Regions from separate parts of the Homo sapiens genome. Here region 1 is linked to region 2. The links are contacts of gene promoters, found by promoter capture Hi-C in blood cells and fetal thymus (Javierre and others, 2016). All regions are on one chromosome and are shown on one strand. The core of a region is centred on a gene start or on the middle of the fragment in contact, and the rest is flanking DNA. Distances in the headings are between cores, read along the strand shown.

Region 1 (2,700 bases), core at 178-2,677, 78 kb after region 2:
CACCCCTCAAAGAGACCAAGGGGTATTATGGGTATGTAAAAAGGCACTTGTGTTGGTGTTTCCTTTTTTTTATGTCTATTTTATTTATTTATTTATTTATTTATTTTTTGAGACAGAGTTTCGCTCTTGTCGCCCAGGCTGGAGTGCAATGGTGTGATCTCAGTTCACTGTAACCTTTGCCTCCCGGGTTCAAGCAATTCTCCTGCTTCAGCCTCCTGAGTACCTGGGACTACAGGCGGGTGCCACCATGCCTGGCTAATTTTTTTTTGTATTTTTGGTGGAGATGGGGTTTCAGCATGTTGGCCAGGCTGGTCTTGAACTTCTGCCCTCAGGTGATCCACCCGTCTCGGCCTCCCAAAGTGCTGGGATTACAGGTATGAGCCACTGCTTCCGGCCTTATTTTTATTTTTTTAAGAGACAGGCTCTTGCTCTATTGCCCAGGCTGGAGTACAGTGGCACAATCATGGCTAGCTGCAGCCTTGAACTCTTGGATTCAAGTGATTCTCCTGCCTTAGCCTTCTGAGTAGCTGGGACCACAGGCACACATCACAACGCCCGGCTAATGTTTTCATTTTTTGTGCAGACAGGGTCTTGCCCAGGCTGGTCTTGAACTCCTGGGCTCAAGCAATCCTCCCACCTCAGCCTCCCAAAGTGTTGGGATTACAGGTGTGAGCCACTGCACCTGGTCTCCTTTTTATTAAACAAATAGATCATTTAGTTGGAATTTATGATGTCAAAAGTGCGAAGGTGGCACCAGAGCCAGACCTGCCATCCTTGGAGAGTGAGCATACCGGTTTGGCACCATCTGCTTGTGGTTTTTGAGTGGTGGTGGTAGTGGTGGTGCGTGTATGTAAACTCGGGTTGCAGAGGAGAGAGGGAAGAGTAAAGGGTGGGGACCAGGTCCAGGAAGAGCAGCAAGGAGAGACTGGCTTCAATTCTGGAGCTGCCTGAAAGAAGGGACCCCAGGCTATGGCTGAGAACGAAATGTGGGCACGTATTTAAAGAAAGGAAATGATTCTCTGCGGTCGGCAGGATCTTTGTCTAGCTAGTGGGGTTCCAGGAAGTGCAAAGGAGAGGGGAAAAGAGGGGCCGTCCGTGCAAGCCTGACTGTGTGTATATGGGGGGGGGGCACACAGAGAGGAAAAGGGAGAGAAAGAAAAGAAATTATTCTAAAGAGGAAGCTGGGGGCGGGGCGAGGGAGGGGTAGAGCCGGGGCACTGGGGGTGGCTGGAAAGGTAGAGAGGCCTCACCTGCGGGCCTGCGAGCGGCTCGGGAGCGGTCAGCCTTGCAGGCTGAAGCGTCTTGCCCCGGAAAAATTCCTGCCCCACTGTCCTTCAGGCTGGATGTCCCGGGGGCCACGGAAGCGAGCGCAGAGCTCCGGGGCTCTCACGAGGGGGAGGGCAGGAAGGGGAGGCGGGGCCTCGCGCGGGGCGGTAGCCGAGCCTGTGGCCCGGGCGGGGCTCCTCTCCGGCGGCGCCGGAGTCTGGGGGCCGCGGCTTCCCCCTCCCGGCCAGCGGCGGCTCCTGGCCCCTCCTCCCCCGGCCGCCCCCATCCCCGCCGCCGCCGCCGCCAAAGCTAAACCCGGCCGTTGCCTGCAGGAGCCGCGGCAGCGGGCGATCGGGCCGTGAGGAGCCTCGGGCGCGGCCTCGCCTCCCGGGCCCGGCGCCTGCCTCAGCACAGCGGACAGCGCCGCGCCCCTTGCCTGGACCCAGCCGCCCGCCCGCCCCCGGCCCACCTGAGCCCGGGCCCGCGGCGCCCGCATCAGCACTGCGGACAGCGCCCCGGGCCCCAGCTCGCCGCCACCGCCGCCGCCCACCTGCTCCCGGGGTCAGCACCGCGGAGACCCCCCTCGCCCGGCCCCGCGACAGCCTCCGAGCGCCCCCGGATCATGGCCACCGAGGTAGGGGCGAGCGCCCCACCCGCAGGCAGTGCCCGATTGCCGCGGGACCAAATGCCCTAGGGGTGGGCTGGGCAGGAGTGGGAGGCGGGAGTTGGGGGTGGGATGGGGTGATTCCCCAGGTCAGGTCTGGAGGGAGGAGGTAGGGGCTTAGTGAGGGCTCATCTCCCCCTTGCGTGTCAATCTTCCCCTCGCCCCACCTGAGCCCCCAAGCTGTCCGCGACACTTGTTGGCATTAGCGCCAGGGTTGCTTCAGGGCCCCAGGCTGGGGTTTCCCCTTCCCTGGACTTCACAAGTCCTGAAACCGCTTTCCTAGAGGGTTGGAGACGCGTGTGTGTGCGTGTGTGAGGGGAGGGAAGGCGGCTGTCCGCTGTTGCTATGCAGTCAGCTTCTGAACCCAAAAGCTTGGCTAAGGGATGACAGACTTACCTCTACATCCGCATTTCCTTTGCGGGAGGGAGGGGACAAAGACATCCTCAGGCTGAGAACCCAAATGGTTGGTCTCCACTTTTGCATATCACCCTTCTTGCTTTTTTACCCCATTCGAGTTTTTTTTTTTTTTTTGTCCCAGGGTGTCCAGATTTCCCCTCCATCTGATGGGAGTTTCTGCCTTCTTCAAGGTGCACTGATAGGTGTGTCACCTTCAAGCACTTGAAGGCTGAACCACGGGGCCTGTTAGCTAAGGGCAGAATCTTGGTATAATGCTTGAGGTCGAGGATTCCCCCCTCTACCCCTAGGGATTGCCCTTTCCCCCCTCATTTCAGGAGGGAGATTGGGCTCTTTATGTTCCCACTTTATACATG
Region 2 (2,700 bases), core at 166-2,665:
AGCCTGGGATGGCTTCCTATTTTATGGATGGGGAAACTGAGGCTCAGTGAAGTCAAGCAACTTGCCTAAGGGCTTCTCTTCAGGGGCAGAGCCTAATCTGCTCTTCCTTCCGCACTGAGCCTTACCCGAATGACTCCCAGCCAGGGGAACTGGGGAAGAGGGTGGAGATCTTAGGGTTCCAGGTACAGAAAACGGGGACGCAGATCATAGTCCAGAACATTCTTAGTCCCCAGTCTTTCTCCACATCCCTTCCCTCACCTCTCCTCTCTTCCCAAGGTCCCAACACGGAGTGGGGATGATGCTTGCTTTGGTGCCTCGGGATCCAGGTGAAAGGCATTGTTTAACGACCCCAGGCATTCTTGGGCTGAGAGGGGTCATAAGGCATTTATCAGGACGTCCCAGGATTGGGGGGACGGCATTGGGGGATTCTCAGCAGCTTGGTTGGATGGGTACTGAGAGGGGTGCCAGGGGTTTCCAGGGAACGAGAGCCAGAGGGAAGGTCTGGAGCCGCCGGGAGGCACTATGCTGCCACTCCCTGGGGAGGTGGGAAGGCGGGAAGGCTGCGGGGGATAATTCCGGGGACGCTGGGCTGAGCTAGGACAGCGTGTGTGTGTGTGTGTGGGCGGAGGGGGGGAGCTGCACCTCTTGGGGGGTTCGCAGAGCTGTGCTAGGGGAGCTGCAGGGCCGTCGGAGCGCGCGGGGACGGCGGCGGCGGCGCTACCTGGAGGCGCGGTGGCGGGCAGGTGCCCGAACTGCACGGCGATGCAGAGGTCGTTGTCCAGGGGGAACTTGTGGCAGTGCAGCATCTCAGGCCAGGGGAAGCCGTAGGCCTCCATGAGCGGCGCGCAGCCGGCGCGCACGGCCTCGCACAGCGAGCGGCACGGGTAGATGGGCCGGTCGAGACAGACGGGCGCAAAGAGCGAGCACAGGAAGACCTGCGTATCCGAGTGGCAGCGCTTGGCCAGCAGCGGCAGCCAGCTGCTCGCCTGCTGCTTCACTTCGGCCAGGCTCTCGTGCTCCAGCAGGTTGGGCAGCCGCATGCGCTTGTAGCCCACCGTGTGGCAGAGCGGCAGGTCGGCAGGGATGTCAAGGCACTGCGGCGGCTTGGAGTAGGAGCGGCCGTGCAGCGGCTCGGCCTGCCAGCCATAGTAGTCGTACTCCTCGCAGCGCGCCGGCGCCCAGTGCAGCGCCCCCAGCAGCAGCGCCAGCGCGGCCGTCCGCACGCCCCCCCCCGCCGCCGCCGCCCGCATGGCTGCGCCCTCTCCAGGTGCGCGCCGCGCAGCCCCCCGACGCTCGGTGCCCGGCGGCCCAGGTGTTCCGGCGTGCGCCCCCGGCCCTGACTCTACCCAGCCGCCGCCGCCGCCGCCGCGGAGGTCGCCCAGGTGGGTGGCAGCCTGCGCTGCGGGCGCCCCGACTGATCCTGGCGCCTCCCACCTCGGGGCTCCAGCCCGGGCCTCGCCGTGCGCCCCAGCCAATCTCCGGCCGCCTGGCCCCAGCTCCAAGGCGGGGAGGCAGTGGGGGCGGCCCTCAGCCCCTCCCGCACCCTGCCCGAGCGTCCCGCCCAGCGCCAGGTCTTGCGCCCCTCTCCCGGCTCGGCTCCCCTGCCGCAGCCCTGGCCTCGCCCAGCGTTTCTCCCCAGGGCTCCCTGCCTCCCTGGGCATTTTCCTCGACCCTCGCCTTCTCCATCCTTCCTCCTTATCTCTCTCCGCCACAGCCTCTCCTGTTCCTTTTCTCACTCACTTCACTTGCTTATCTCTCTGCCTTGGCTTTTCTCCCTCTGCTCTGTTTTCTCTTCCCCGACACCTCGGTTCCTCTTCTCCCTGGTGGGAGGCTCGTGCCACCCCACACCCTGGATCTTCTGGTCCTCCTGGCAGGTCTTCATTGAGCTTGGTGCCAGGCCCCATGCTGGCTGCTGGGGAATCAAAGATGGATATGACCCAGAACCCACCTCCAGGGCCAGGATAGTCTAGTGGGGGTGAAGGTAATCATAGCTTCTATTTAGTGAGCTCTTACTACCTGCCAGGGACGGTGCAAGGTGCAAGGTGCGGTGCAAGGTGCGGTGCAAGGTACGTTCCAAGCTTATCAGCTATTGCTAATGATAGCCAATACTTAGTGGGTGCTAATTGTGTGCCAAGTCTGATCTGAGCACATTGCATAAACTCCCTCAGCTAATTCTCACAATAAGGCTAGATGGTGGGTAGGTACTATTATTGTCCCCACCTTACAGATAAAGATCCTGCGGCAGAGAGGTTAAGCACAGATTAGAGCTGGGATTTGAACCCAGATAGTCTTTTTCGAGAGTCAGAGCCCAGAAACAACCAGGAGGCCTGGATTCTGAGTCTGTAGGCCTAATGACCAAGGGGATAGGGAGTTCAGAGAAGTGGAGTAACTGGCCCTTGGCCACACAGCTCATATGTGAAGGAGCTAGGATTTGAATCCAGATGTTGGGCTACAAAGGCCAGGGCTTAACCACTCTGTGGTAAGATAACTTCCAACCCATGGTAGGGAACACAGTGGGAAGAGGGGGAATTGATGGTGTGTCTGAGCAGGGCACCCAGGCAAGCATCAGAGGGGAGGGGACCTTCAGGAGCCCCATGCTTGGTGTCTTTCTCTCCTGTCTGAGTCCTGCCTTTCATTGGCTCTCCCTTGAGAGGAATTTGGACTGGAGGCTTGAAGGGAGGGGAATTCCTTCCTGAGAGC

The links. The method cuts DNA at HindIII sites, captures the fragments that hold promoters and counts their contacts. A CHiCAGO score of 5 or more calls a contact.
Region 1: a contact is called between the fragment with the promoter of GOLGA7B here and the fragment with the promoter of SFRP5 in region 2, in 14 of 17 cell types (naive CD8 T cells, total CD8 T cells, non-activated CD4 T cells and 11 more). The highest score is 22.9, in naive CD8 T cells.

Annotation. Positions count from the first base shown.
Region 1 is chr10:97,848,416-97,851,115 of GRCh38, forward strand. GOLGA7B (golgin A7 family member B) reads left to right here and starts at 1,428. Exons shown (of 5, transcript NM_001010917.3): 1 at 1,428-1,900. The coding sequence starts at 1,889. It overlaps GOLGA7B-DT (GOLGA7B divergent transcript), which reads right to left and starts at 1,383. Exons shown (of 3, transcript NR_108035.1): 1 at 1,251-1,383. The HindIII fragment of the contact is 7,033 bases long and covers 1-2,299 here.
Region 2 is chr10:97,770,584-97,773,283 of GRCh38, forward strand. SFRP5 (secreted frizzled related protein 5) reads right to left here and starts at 1,416. Exons shown (of 3, transcript NM_003015.3): 1 at 722-1,416. The coding sequence starts at 1,250. The HindIII fragment of the contact is 8,141 bases long and covers 1-2,076 here.